Regions from separate parts of the Homo sapiens genome. Here region 2 is linked to region 1. Evidence: promoter capture Hi-C in human tissues and cell types (Jung and others, 2019). All regions are on one chromosome and are shown on one strand. The core of a region is centred on a gene start or on the middle of the fragment in contact, and the rest is flanking DNA. Distances in the headings are between cores, read along the strand shown.

Region 1 (7,184 bases), core at 1,810-4,309:
TCCCTATTCAATAGATATTTCTTCCATCCGTATCCTTCCTTCCACCCTACATCAGTTTGTCAACTTCTTTCAAGACTCACCTTCTCCAAGAGACCTTTTTTCATCAATTTCAACCACTCTCCCACCTGGGATGCCTGTCTTACTTTTTTTTCCCCCTGAACATTTATGCAGACACTGTGCTAGGCTAACTGGAATCTTTATGTAAATTCTTCTCATCCAAATTGAAAGTTCTATGCAAGGGCCTCTTCTTGCCCTTTTATAAAACAGCAACCACTCAATGGCATGAGATTCATAAAGGCTAATTCAGTAAGTATCCATATGAATTGAAAAACAGCCTTTGAAGGACCTAGAAGATCTAGAGGAGATCCCAAATCCAGTGTGTTTAGGTCACACTGCACCCTAACAGTTTCTACTGACCACCAGCAGCAATAATAAAAATTGACACAGTTACCACCCACACAGGTGTACATATTTATGTCAATTTCTCCTACCATCTTTTAGACTTGAGAAATGAAAAGTAGAGCAAATTCTGGGGAACATTGTTAATATATTAAAATGCAATTTAATGGCAAATTTTGCTCCTTGATCACTTCTTTGCTTATTTTAGAGAACCAAAGAGTTTTTTTCCAGAATGATTAGAAAGATATTTAATTAATGTAGGTGAAAGTTGTAGGTATAATGACCTAACTCCTATTGCAATGTATCACAGTGGATAAGATGATAAATTAATGGGCATTTGTTAGCCATGTTTAAGATTAAATATTAAAAAAGTCATTAAACTGATTGTGCTTTGAAAATAATCCCCCCAGAAAAAAAGAGTTAAAATTGCTTTCTTTCTTCTTTCAACCCATTTGAGTACTCTAGGGTACACTCTCCAGTGTCAACAAAGAGATCATTTATATCAGGTATAATTTTCAAAGGAACAACCATCTCATTTGTAAATCAACTACTACATTTTAAGATCAATGACCAATGCTACTACTCACCTAATCTTTTATTATTAAGGCAGATAATCATGAATTAATTCAGTTGATCTTTTAACAACTTATATAGTGAAGATATCTGCAATAACATACTGCAAGAGAAATTGTCAAAATCTTTTATAGGTGTCTCTCCTACTTGTGTAATGATAAATATCTTTTGGTTTTCAAAGCATCAAGCATACTGGAAGTAGTAAGTATTCGGTTAATGTTTATGGATCTATTTGTACTTTGTTTATTTATACTCATTGGCCCATTTGGTTTAACTAGCCATCCCCTGAGTTATTTTCCCAATTTTTCAGATGAGAACAAATAAAATCTTCAGAAGGTCACAAAAATAATAAGTAGTGAATCCTGGACTGAAATCTACTCATTTCTGTCCTCATAAAATACTGGAGAGAGAGAGAGAGAGAGAGAATAAATACTTTATTACATGTCTCATTGTTTTCCAGTTTTACAGTACTACAGGAAAATAAGTGTTTAATAATAATTGCTAACATGAAAAAATGTAACACATACAAATGTTATCTCTTCCACTTTCAACTGATGAGAACTGACGTTTTATCAATCTTCTGTATAAAATCATTTCTGTTAAGTTCTGTAAAATTTGCATCAATTCTTCTATATATAATCATCTTTGTAAAGTTCTTGAGAAATGTTTGGATGAAATACTGAACTACAAACATAAAAGTCAAGATGTCAAAATATAATGTCAATTTTAATATTACTTTATACTTTGAATTGCTAGTGATCTAATGATTGATATAGGAATATGTTTGAAAGCCAAAAACATTATATAGATACTTTGTGGCAGATATGTCAGAATGTGATTATACTTAAAACAGCATTCTATAAATTTGAAGAATGTGAATTAATGATAGAGATTTCAGATTTCAGATTATTATTTGATATTGAATATAGATTTTTATGGAAGTCAAAATATGGAGTAAAAATATTATATAAGGAGAAATGAAGATAATCTCACAGAGTTAAAGCATGTGATTTTTGTATTTTAATTCTAACTGACCATGTGACATTTGGGAAGGTCATTTAATTTATTTGAGCCTCAGTTTTGGGGTATGTAAAACCACAGTAACTCATATCTTTCCTTGCCTACCCTCTAAGATTGGGGAGAATCAAATTAGATAATGCAGGTGAAATACTTTGCAATTTTCCCTTTAATATGACATTGTTTTATAACATTATATTACTGATGCAACATTTATTTGCATTATGAAATATCTTCTAAGGAATAAAATATTTGGACATCACTACAATTGATGAGGACTGCATGTGTATTTTTGAAAGCTGTATTCTGATTTACAGAGCAAAAATAAAAAATAAGCAAGCTACCAAATATGTAAATACAGGAATTAGCCCAGTAGTATTTGTTCTTCTGTTCCACTACAGGCTTTAGAGTAATATCAGTGTGTGTTTTTCTTACATAACTATGTGACATTACTTAGGGCATAATTCTAAAATTTCTGTCCTAGGAGACACTAGATAACTCTCAAAAACTTCTGATTTGCTTGCATCCCTTTTTGGCAGAGTGGTCACAGTATAATGCGGGAGGGTAGGTGACCCCAGAGTTCAGAGTCCTCATGCACCCGGGAGCAAAATTCACAGGAAAATAAGCCCACATGGAGCTACTGCATTGTCTGATGGCCTCGTTCGAGGAGGCGTCAATTTAACTTTAAACCCATGAGCTCATTGAGAGCAGGGGAGAGAAGGGGATGTCTCCAAATTCAGGAAACTGTTGCCATAGCATTTTCCCTTCTCTATTCCTGCATAGCCCTCCTCCCCCGAATCAGCAACAATTTTTGCTCCACCGTTTTCTTTCGGGAACCAGATGCGTTTTCAGAAGACAGTACTCCAGTGATAAGGTATCTACACCACTTAATAACTGTACCTGGTAAGGAGATTTAATAAGGCTGAGGGTGGTATTAAGTTTCTCAGAACAGACTCATCTTTGCGGATGCAGTTGCAGAACAGGAAACAGACCCAGGGAGAAGTTTAGTCCCCCCAGATCTCATTGGCCCTCCGCACAAGCCAAGCCACAGCCACTCCTGCCACACAATCGGATTGCTTTCAGCACTCGCAGCCGTGGACCGCCGTGCGGTCCTTTCCTCCGCAGTGAGCCGATTTGCTCTGCCAGCAGCTGTCGGTGCCGCGCTCGACACCGAGTCCTAGCTAGGCGCTCACAGAATACGCGCTCCCTCCCTCCCCCTTCTCTGTCCCCCGCCTCTCGCTCACCCCGGCCCACTCCAGCGGCGACTTTGAGGGATTCCCTCTCTGGCGGCCTCTGCAGCAGCACAGCCGGCCTCATTCGGGGCACTGCGAGTATGGATCTCCAAGGAAGAGGGGTCCCCAGCATCGACAGACTTCGAGTTCTCCTGATGTTGTTCCGTGAGTAGCGATTTGGCGACTGGGAGAGAGGACGGGCACTCTTTGCAGAGAACAGAGCCGGCAAAGTAAAGTCAATTAGCTTGAGATAAAAAATATGGCCCTTAATGTTTTGCGGTGTTTTTTCTTTTTTTCTTTTAGGGGAGGAGGGAGGGCCTTCCTCGCCGGTGGCAGGGAATTCCCCTGAGAGCCATACACCTCTGTGGCATATTCCAGACAGAGCCTAGACAGGCCAGCTTCGTGAGGTCAGAGCATTGGCAAGAAATATTTACTTTAAAATCCCAAGATGTAGAAAACAGCCAGCTATATTACAAACAAAGTCAGGATTTTTAATTTTTTTAACTGTATTTTCATTATAAATTAACAGCGAAGGAATGAGGCTTGTTAGACCCGGGTTAGAGAAACGGCTCGTAGAGCGCACAGCTGCTGGCAGAGAACTTTGTCACTCCAAAGCCTGCAGAGCACTGTCTCCCCACCCTAGCGCCCGAGACGCGTGGGCTGAGCCCTGAACTGATGGAATTGTTTTGTTTGTTCCGCAGATACAATGGCTCAAATCATGGCAGAACAAGAAGTGGAAAATCTCTCAGGCCTTTCCACTAACCCTGAAAAAGATATATTTGTGGTGCGGGAAAATGGGACGACGTGTCTCATGGCAGAGTTTGCAGCCAAATTTATTGTACCTTATGATGTGTGGGCCAGCAACTACGTAGATGTAAGGAATCTTTCCCCCCCCTCAGCTTGCTCCTAGGGCTCCAGGGCGAAGGGCACCCTTCCTCAAGGCTCTTCGAAGACCTGGGTTGCCCGCCTTCTTTCCCACACCCCGGCAGGCTGCTCCCGAATGCTGCATGGGGATTCCAGCTTGTAATGCCTTCTGTTCCCCTGCCTGCTTTGAAAGTAAACCCCCTTCTCTCCGCTTCCCTATCGGGGCTGCACGTAGAGCATCTAACCGCATGTTCCCGGAACCTGGGATGCGCGCGCGCAAAGGAGCGCCCAAGCGTGCAACCCAGAGTTTGGACGCGCCGCCCTTTACAGCCCCCGCCCCGGGGCCGGGCGAGCTGAGGGGGCGCGGGGCGTCTGTGTTCCCAGCTGATCACAGAACAGGCCGATATCGCATTGACCCGGGGAGCTGAGGTGAAGGGCCGCTGTGGCCACAGCCAGTCGGAGCTGCAAGTGTTCTGGGTGGATCGCGCATATGCACTCAAAATGCTCTTTGTAAAGGTAACTCCGAGCCCAGCGGGCAGAGGGGCCGCAGGCTCCGCGTGGGTGTGGGAAGTGGCGGCCCCTAGGTTTAAGAACCCAGACGCTGCGGGGACGATTGAAGCGCACCTCCCCGGCTCAACAGGAAAGCCACAACATGTCCAAGGGACCTGAGGCGACTTGGAGGCTGAGCAAAGTGCAGTTTGTCTACGACTCCTCGGAGAAAACCCACTTCAAAGACGCAGTCAGTGGTGAGTGGAGGCTGGCATGGCTGGGGAGGGAGCCTGGGAACTCGCAGAACAGGCTTGGAGAGAGAATTCCTCAAGGTTTTGGAAACCGTCCCACGCTTTGAGGTCCCAGGCCAAGTCTTCCCTCGGCTTGCTCTTTAGGGCGGAAGAGGCGGGAGCGCCCATGAGTCTTCTGGGTCTCAGGCCTTGTAGATCCGCCAGGAACCGCAGGCGTGGGGACCCAAACGTCACCCGTGGCCTGATCCTAGATAAGAAGTCCCTTGAAGGCCTGTCGTTCCCTGGTGCTTCAAAACGACCTCTTATGATTTGGCCTTTGAAGGACCACGGAGAAGGGCAAAGCTGCATTTTAATTTTCTTCCGCATCCTGGTTTTGTTTCTTATGCGCTAAAACTGCAAGGGGGCAGTGCGACTTTCCTTTTCAGTCAGGATGTGATGGCCTTCAGTGTCTTTTTGCGCATGGCAGCATGGCTCGCACGGGATATTCAGTCATCGACTGCAGCTACCTGACAGTGGATTCTGCACCATGTATAATTTACTAGCGTTTCTGGCCCATCCCTCCGACAACTCAGCCAGATCCTCCTCGGCAAAACGAGCGTTCATCCCCCAAATAACAATATTCCTATCTGCAGACACCGTCAAAGACCACATTTAAATTTATTTTATTCTTTATAAGTTGTCTATTTCACTCATAATGAGGCCCTTCATCACCCAGGCACCTGAGTTGGGAAAGGATTTTTATTGAATACATAAAAATACATGTGTCATCTTTCCCTTTTCACCCCTTTTTGTTATCACAGTAAAAGGAGGATTTTTTCTTTTTCATCAAAGTTTAGATGCAAGATGTCCCCCAGTTAAATTAGACCAAAAAGGAAAAAGGAAAAATCAAACTTAGGTCAGAAAAAGAGCAATGGGAGGCAGACCTTCAGAGGGGATGTATGTGTGTAAGGACAAGCATCCAGAGGACCAGCAATCTGTCCGGCTTTGTTGAGGAAGATGTTTTATTCTTTGCCAGGCCCGTGTGAAATGTGGAAAACCAAGTCACTGTTCCTTCTGTGTCTTTGGAATCTCCATTATTAGGGATTTTTTTTTTCTTTTTTGAAGTGCGGTCTCACTCTGTCCACCAGGGTGGAGGGCAGTGGCACCACCATAGATCACCACAGCCTGGAGTAAGCTACTGGGCTCAAGAGATTCTCCCACCCCAGTTTCCCCAGTAGCTGGGACTACAGGCATGTGTCACCATGCCAGACTAATTTTGTAAATGTATGTGTGTGTGTGTGTATTTGTAGAGACAGAGTCTCACTATGTTGCTCAGGCTGGTCTAGAAATCTTGGGCTCAAACGATCCTCCCACCTTGACCTCTGAAAGTTTTGGGATTACAGGCAGGATCCACCATGCCCAGCCTAGGTTTTATACAGTAACAAGGGTTGGGTTTTTAAGTATCATTCTCCTCTTCAAAAAAGGAGTTCCAAATTAATATTGAAAGAGCCCTGGCTCTCAAGATAATGGGTGTGTTTGTCCTTCATCACCACTTGATGCCATTTGTAGAGCCCTAGCCCTGGCAAGGGAACAGAGAGGACAGGAGGGGTGTGGTGTCTGGAACTGAGAGGCAATAGCCAGCTCTCTGGCACATTAGGTTAGGAACAATGAGGGTTCTAACTATTGCTCTGGGCTCTTGCTGTAGCTGGGAAGCACACAGCCAACTCGCACCACCTCTCTGCCTTGGTCACCCCCGCTGGGAAGTCCTATGAGTGTCAAGCTCAACAAACCATTTCACTGGCCTCTAGTGATCCGCAGAAGACGGTCACCATGATCCTGTCTGCGGTCCACATCCAACCTTTTGACATTATCTCAGATTTTGTCTTCAGTGAAGGTAAGTTGTTGGGGGATGGAGGGGAAGAAGACCTAGTTTATTTCAGGAAGGATGAGAGAGGGACCTACCAGGGCCCCAGGATGTTACCACTTGGATTTCCTCTAGGTTGAAATGACACTGCCTGCCTCTTTAATAATTTTCAAAGACTAAAAAAGCAGTAAGCTGAATGTATGAACTTATCTCAGTAGTTCTTTCTTTCTCCCTCCCAGCCTCCTCCCCGTTTACCTTCACTTTAGTCCTTTCTTCTCAGTCTCCCTTTGTTTCCTCCTTCTTCTTTTCTTTACCTTCTTCCCTCCCTTCTTATATTTCATCTTTCCCTCTCTCCCCATCTTCTTTCCTTTGCCAAAAGATGAACCTTCATAGGGAGAAAGATTTAAAAAGTCACTTTGGAAAAAACTGTAATTTTGATGCAAACTTCCCAAGGAGAAAGCAGCTAAAGTATTTAAGACGTTAGTTAATCTAGAGAGCTACAGATGGGGGAAAGGG
Region 2 (7,184 bases), core at 2,479-4,978, 68 kb after region 1:
AAACACTGTCACTATGTGAATTTTAACTGGAGGAACATATCTCAGGCCTCTATTTATCAAGATTTGTTTTTAATTTTATATCCTGGGAACTAAGGTGACAGCTTTTTTGTTTCTTCTAAAGAATGGCTGAAGTAACTCCAACAATACACTTAAATGGCTTCTCTTCAACATCTTGGATGAGGTTAATGAGAAATAAGAAGCAAAGGAAAAATATCGACTATCTATAATCAATAAATCAGGTGAATGCAGGCAGGCTTGGGTTCCAGAGTTTTCTGTGCTGCTCACCAAACTGTCAAGAGTTTGGTATAAATAAAGTACATGACTGCCCTGTGAGAAGTCATGTCCCTCTCACCTGCTTCAAGACCTCTATGTAATCCACATTCCACACCCTACGGTCCATGTTCTTTTGCTGGACAGGTAAGGTAGCAAAAACATTTCTAAATGACAGGGAAAAATAAATCACTTGCACATTCTCAAAGGTATTTTCCAAGACTTTAGACCTTCGGACCCATAGACCTTTGCCTGTGCTTTTAGTTTCAGTAACTTCTCCGGCAGTGATTCCCAAACTTTAGGATATCATAGACCAGTCAAATTTCAAAGCAAACTTGGAGCTGCTAACATTTAAACAAAATTTAAAAGAGGAATTACTACAAAACAAAGTGAAAAGGGGACAAAAATGGTCCAGCGGTCCAGCAACCATCTGTCACCCCCAAATTTCATATAAAAACCAATATTTCAAATCAAATATAGTAGAAAGTACATACTCTTAATATGAAGGGCCATCCCCTGAGTTGAACAAAATTGGCTTTATTTAAAAATTACCATGTTATACTGAGTTTCTTTCCTTTTTAGCAGGTCTATGCAAACTTTGCCAGGATGTAGGAACCACTGGATGGCTCGATCTAATGCTCTATGATTGTATATGACTGATCCACTCCTTAACAGGGAACTTAGTCAAATACAGTCACATCATATTTATCACTCATATATCAGAATTCTATCTTTCAAATCAATAAGTTTATTCGCCTTTTAATGAGAAACCACGTAGGAGGGCCCAAAAGATAGATTTTTATTTTAATGAATATATATGCCTTATCCTAAACCTCTGCCCTGGGGCCTCACAAGTGGAGATAGGGTGGGTTTTGATATTGATTTTCCCTTAAAAGGCAAACAAGTACTTTACAATCCAATCGTATAAAAAGGTCGTGCCAGCACCACCCCTGTGGAGGTTTTTGCACACGTGAGGGAAAGGAGGTAGCAAACGTTACCTTTGGAATGCACATTGTGGGCTCGGACAAGCGAGGGTAGGTGTAGGAGTTGTAGGAGTGTCCTTGGGGATGGGTTTTAAATGCACTTGCTCCAAATGGCATCATCGGTTCCTGGAGTCCCGAGCCTGACCTGGACCTCTGCCGCATGGTGGGCTGAGGGCTTGTCTGATTCAGGTACGAAGACTTTGGCCTCCTGTCATAGTCATCCAGGCTGGGTCCCCATTCACTTTCACTGTACGCCAGGCTCTCCTTGGAGCACCCGCTGGTCCCTGCAGTTCTAGAAGGTGTGAATTGGAATGAATAATCCAGAGGGGAGCTACTCGAGGCTCTCTGATACTCCCACTTGAGGTCACTGTATTCACTTGGTTTGCTCAGTGAGTCCAAATGTGAGTGATAATCGGCAGAAAATCTGGCAAAATCGGATTTCAAAGGCTTCACCTCAGAATAGTAGGCCTCCCCGTGCTTCATTTTCATTACGTGCCCATTTTGCTTGGCTGCGTGGCTGCCTCTATAATACGGATCCAGATCATCTCCATAGAGACTCTTCTCCCTGTACTTTTCGGTCGTGTAGTCAGCAGTAGTATCGGATTCGCTGGAATACTGGGAGAAGGTGATGAAGCCATTTTCTTCCGCGTGGCCTGGACCGTGGCTGGAGGCTCCCTGATCTGGGGTGGGTGGGCTTTCTTTCCTTAGGGAGTTGGAGCGAGTCACCGAGATGTTGTCAAAATCCTCTAGCAGGCCGTTGATGGAGGTTTCCTTGCAGGGTTTGTTTCCTCTAACGATTGTCTGGGAATAATAGAGGGAATATTGTTTAAAGAAAATATTTCATGGATTTAAATTGATGGTGGCATCCCACCCCCACTCCATCCAAATTAAACTACAGAAGAAAAAAGACCCCGGGAACACTTAACACAAAATGATAAAGAAAATGTGTTGATTGACTTCAGTGGTGAAATAAATCAAATAGTAAACAATCTCAAATTGCATTTTTCTTCTTACCTATCTCAACAGAGACATCAAATAACCATCAAAAAGCCATGTAGGAGACTACATAGAATATAACTGTTTTATTTACCAGTTTACAGGCAAATCCCTTCCCCCTACTTCTTCTACCTAAATAATAAGCCCTAACCACCTAATGATGAGCTGATAATTATAATTTAACACTCTATAACTGTTTGGTAATAAAAAATAATATTTATTACTGTTTTACATTCATTATTCAGATGATTTTCAAAACCAGAAGGCATTATCACCCAACTATTAACATAACTAGAAATGGGTGTACATTTTTTGCCCTTATATGGAAGACATAATAACTGAGGTTATGAAATTTTATGGATGAGGCAGGCACTTCCTGAAACTGTAATTAGGAAACAGACTGAAGATTATTTGTGTGATTTATGATCAAATGTGATATTCTTATTAAGTATATATACTTATACTATACTGCTTGTTTGTTATGGCCACACTTCTGTGTAACATCACCGCTGAATTTTGGATGGCTTAGTAATGATGGTTGCACCTGGATCTTAGTGACAAATTGTTCCCTTTAATGAACCTAAATAACACAAGAATACCAGGAACTGAAAGACATCGCAAACCACTTACAAAGCCCGTCAGCCGTGCCTTGACAATGACAGGATTTGCAGGCAAATATGATGGGGGTGGATAAAAGAACAAAGAACAAAGTGTTGTGACTTCAGACTTCCAGGATTTTAGGAGAAAAATACTTTTGAGCAAGTAGCAAGGAGTTCAAAACTATCTTGGATGGTACAATAGAAGATTTCAAACTGGAGGAAGAAGTCAAAGTTGTCCTGGAGCTGATGTTTTATAGATCTATCCATGGTGAAACAAAGGGTTTATTTTTTTTCTTTCCAAGAGTCCTGGACTAATAGTTTTGTACTATACCCTTTTCTTTCAAATAAAATTTTTATTCTAGAATAGTTTTAGATTAACAGAGAAGTTGCAAAGAGAATACAGAGTTCTCATAGACTTCTCATCCAGTTTCCCCTTGAGTTAATATCTTGCATTGCTATTAAGGAAACTCCATGTTCCTATAGATTTCATTAATTTTCTCCTAGGGTTCTAGAGTCCCATCCAGGATAGTTCATTACATTTATTTGTTATATCTTCCGAGTTTCCTCTGATCTGTGACAGTTTCTCAGATTTTCCTTATTTTTTGATGACCTTGACAGTTTTGAGGAGTACTGGTGAGGTATTTTGGAGAATGTTCCTCCATTGGGGTTTTCTGGTGTTTTTCCCATGTTTAAACAGAGGTTATTTGGTTTGAGGAGGAAGATCAGAGAGTCAAGTCACATTTCATCGCATAATGTTTAGGGTACATATCGTCGACACGACTTAGGAATGATGATGTTAGCCCTGACTACCTGGGTGAGGTCATATTTTCCAGGTTTCTTATACACACAGTCACACTCCCCTTCCCTAGCTTTCTGTATATTGTATTCTTTGGGAACAAGTCAGTAAGTGTAGCGTCTACTCAAGGGTCAGGGATTTAAGCTTTATCTTCTTGGGTGTGTGTGTGTGGTGGGGGTAGGGTATCTATATAAAGTAGTTGGAATTCTTCTGCACAGGAGACTTGCTTATTTGCTCCCATTTACCTACTCATTCAATCATTTATTTATATATAAGGATGGATGGACTTATGGTTATTTATTTTATACTTTGGGTTATAAGCCAACACTCTGTTATTTGCCTTGTTGCTCAAATGGTTCCAGCTTTTGTCACTGGGAGTTCTCTCAGGCTGGCTGCTGTGTCCCTTTGATGATCCCTCTTCCTTTTATTTTTTGAGCACTTCCTTACTTTCTGTCCCTACAAGAAGCTCCAGGTTTATCTTTTATTTTCCCTGCCCTTCCCCCCAAATCAGGCATTTCTCCAAGGAACGCTAATAGTATTAGAAATTAAGATTTGGTTCCAGGAATACTCATTGCTACTGGGTGTCATTGCCAGGCCTCAGCAAACAGAGCTCCGAAATAATATGTTTGTAGACTAACTCATGAACACACTCACACACCTATAATTATATCCATCCATCTGTATCTATATTAACCTAAACATAAATCCACATTAATGTCTCTGAATCTAATCAAGTACCACATAATTCATTCTTGCCATTTCCTTACCTGTAACTTCCTCTGCAACAGTAAAAAACATGGGCCCCACCATCTGCCAGTCATTTGCCTATTCAGTGCTAGTATAACTGTTCAGCAGTTTCAGATTAACTCACTCTACCATGAGAAACAACTTTGTCAACTCAAGTACCATGTTTAAGTCCAGTTCTTTAAAATTCCTTTACACTTATAGTTTGCATTCAAAGCACTGTTTCCAAAGTTCCTTAAGTTAGTGTCTTTTTTCCTGCACCCCCTTCAATGAGGTTATGTTATAAATGTATAGCTGTTGGATTCTTTGGTCACATTCTGCATTCTATCCCAGGATCCTCTGATCTTCTGGTTTATTTTTTGTTGTTTTTTGAAACTACGTACATTAATTAACTCTTTGTGCTGCAAAGCTCTATGGGTATTGACAAGTGCAAAGCATCATGTATTCACTGTTAGAGTGCCATACAAATTAGTGCCACCAGCTGCAAAAATATCTCCTGAGTTTCCTCTAGTCAAACATTACCCTCTCCCCAAACCCTTGATATCACTGATCTGTTTTCTGTCCTTATTGTTTTGTCTATTCCAGAATATCATATGGATGGAATCATACAGTCTGGAGCCTTTCAGCTTGACTTCTTTCACTGAGCATAATATAGTCAGTGTTCATAAACTAATATCCTAGTCTTTTTTTTGCCTATTCCTTTTTTATTCCATAGTGTGGAATTCATTATATGGAATGTAGTCATTGTTGAGGGTGGTGCATAAATTGATGGATTGATTGCCAAAGTAGGGGATGCTCTGTTGGAGCCTCCCTTAGAGAAAGAAAGAATCATGTATATAACCTGGGACCTTTCCTCAGAGGAACAACATCCATCCTCACCCCACAGATTAACTTGGGAGAAACAATAACTGTGAAGAGTAAAAGATGAGCAGCCTTGGCAGAGGAAAGATGAAACAGCTATAACTCAGCCTTAAAAATATCAAGTCTCTTTCAGCAGCTTCCTATTTCATTTCAGTTGTATCTTCCCTGTTTACCACTTATTTTATTTTATTTTATTTTATTTTTTGAGAAAGAGTCTTGCTCTGTCACCCAAGCTGGAGTGTAGTGGCATGATCTTGGCTCACTACAACCTCCGCCTCCCGGGTTCAAGTAATTCTCCTGCCTCAGCCTCCCCAGTAGCTGGGATTACAGGCACTCACCACCACGCCTGGCTAGTTTTTGTATTTTTAGTAGAGACAGGGTTTCACCATGTTGGTCAGGCTGGTCTCAAACTCCTGACCTCGTGATCCACCCGCCTTGGCCTCCCAAAGTGCTGGGATTACAGGCGTGAGCCACAGCGCCTGGCCTTGTTTACCACTTCTCTATTTCCTCAGGGTGGCCTTCAAGCCCTCTTAGACATCTGTTCTGCTTCCTTCTATGGATTTAAACTTCTGGCCTCCTTTCCTATTCAATAATGTCTTGCACTGTTTTTTAAAAGAAAACAGAAACAGTTTGTTTGTATCACAGTGTATCAACTAAAAGTTTTTCCTTTTGGACAGAAATTATACTCTTGCACATTTTCTACTCCCTCTCTTTATGAACAATAGGCAGGTTACTCAAACAAAATGTCATCAGGAATTCATGGTTCCTCCAAAAGAGCTTCCTGGTGTGTTTAATCCCAGGCATTTGTGTTGACAGATGTGCCACATGGGTAATGAGTGTAAGGCACACCAAGGTCTTAAAGGGCCCTTCTGAATCACTGGATCTACTCGGATAATCCTTTAGCAAAAATCTTATCTTATCCAGACTTTCTCTGAACTTGATAAACAATGCTTAACTATATTAGATTTTTTTCATATTCAATGTTACCTTTAGCTCTATATCCTAGAAAAATATTATTTCTTTAAATTCTATCCATCTTAAACAATATTCCAATTATTCTTTCTTGCCTGCCCCCCATGCCTTCCCATCTCTGAATACACAAAATATTCAGTCTGCTACCATGGAATCACTTCCAGCATCTTAATTTTGGAAAGAGTCTAGGTCACCTCTTCTTTTTACTGAGTAAAACCTGAAACCTGGAGTTGACTTTGCCAACAATATTTAACAAACAGGGGATTTGAACCCAAGTCTCCTTTCTCCCAGTCTAGGTCTCTTTCTATGGTATGCTTTAGACTCTTTTAGGCTAAACAAAATATTACCAGTAAGCAATGCAACGTTGGTGTGTGACATCACAACCCAGCAAATTGGCCATTGGTCATTGTGGTGCATATTTCTATCGTGCGCTCCACTCTCAGAAATTAGTTGCTGAATGTACGGAATATGGATAATTCTAGATTCCAATTTCAATTTCAGTGCACACTTGCTATGTGATTTAATTTCATTCTTTATTTCATTACCTGTTCTCTTATTTGTAATAGGGATATTATCACTTGATGGTATTTAGTGATCCCCTTCCCCCTAGAATTGTAGCTGCAGATAGAAGGAGGTGCTAGAGAACAGTTTTAAAACATCCTAATGCCCTCAACGAAAACACTGCCTTCAGTGGACGGAAATTTGTAAATATGATATGAATTAAGAACATTTCTACACATTCATCAATGAAGGCTAAGAAAAGCATGAAGATTATTTAAAAAATGATCAGAGAAAAGCAAGCTAAAAGTCTAGGGAAAGTTTCTGGAAGAAAAGAACTATGAAGCACATCTAGGAGGAAGCAATAGATGTAACTAGAGAGAGAGAAAAAAGAGATAATCACCAGCTCATCATTTACTGGACAACTGAGGCTCAGAGGTGATCTGTATGCCTTCAGATGCTACC

The links. Contacts are between HindIII fragments. The study calls those that stand out against the background at their distance.
Region 2: a fragment that was not itself captured here is called in contact with the fragment with the promoter of LAMP5 in region 1 in 6 of the 25 tissues and cell types used here (H1 embryonic stem cells, IMR-90 fibroblasts, aorta and 3 more).

The regions. Positions count from the first base shown.
Region 1 is chr20:9,511,531-9,518,714 of GRCh38, forward strand. LAMP5 (lysosomal associated membrane protein family member 5) reads left to right here and starts at 3,060. Exons shown (of 6, transcript NM_012261.4): 1 at 3,060-3,386; 2 at 3,923-4,095; 3 at 4,470-4,601; 4 at 4,726-4,831; 5 at 6,510-6,698. The coding sequence starts at 3,323. LAMP5-AS1 (LAMP5 antisense RNA 1) reads right to left here and starts at 3,468. Exons shown (of 5, transcript NR_109957.1): 1 at 3,234-3,468. RefSeq lists enhancers at 3,995-4,579, 7,123-7,184. The HindIII fragment of the contact is 16,129 bases long and covers 1-7,184 here.
Region 2 is chr20:9,578,877-9,586,060 of GRCh38, forward strand. It overlaps PAK5 (p21 (RAC1) activated kinase 5), which reads right to left. Exons shown (of 10, transcript NM_177990.4): 4 at 1,269-2,054. All of the region lies in intron 2 of LOC105372523 (a long non-coding RNA gene), which reads left to right. Among named protein-coding and RNA genes, the nearest start is that of LAMP5-AS1, 67 kb to the left of the region's middle. The HindIII fragment of the contact is 8,917 bases long and covers 1-7,184 here.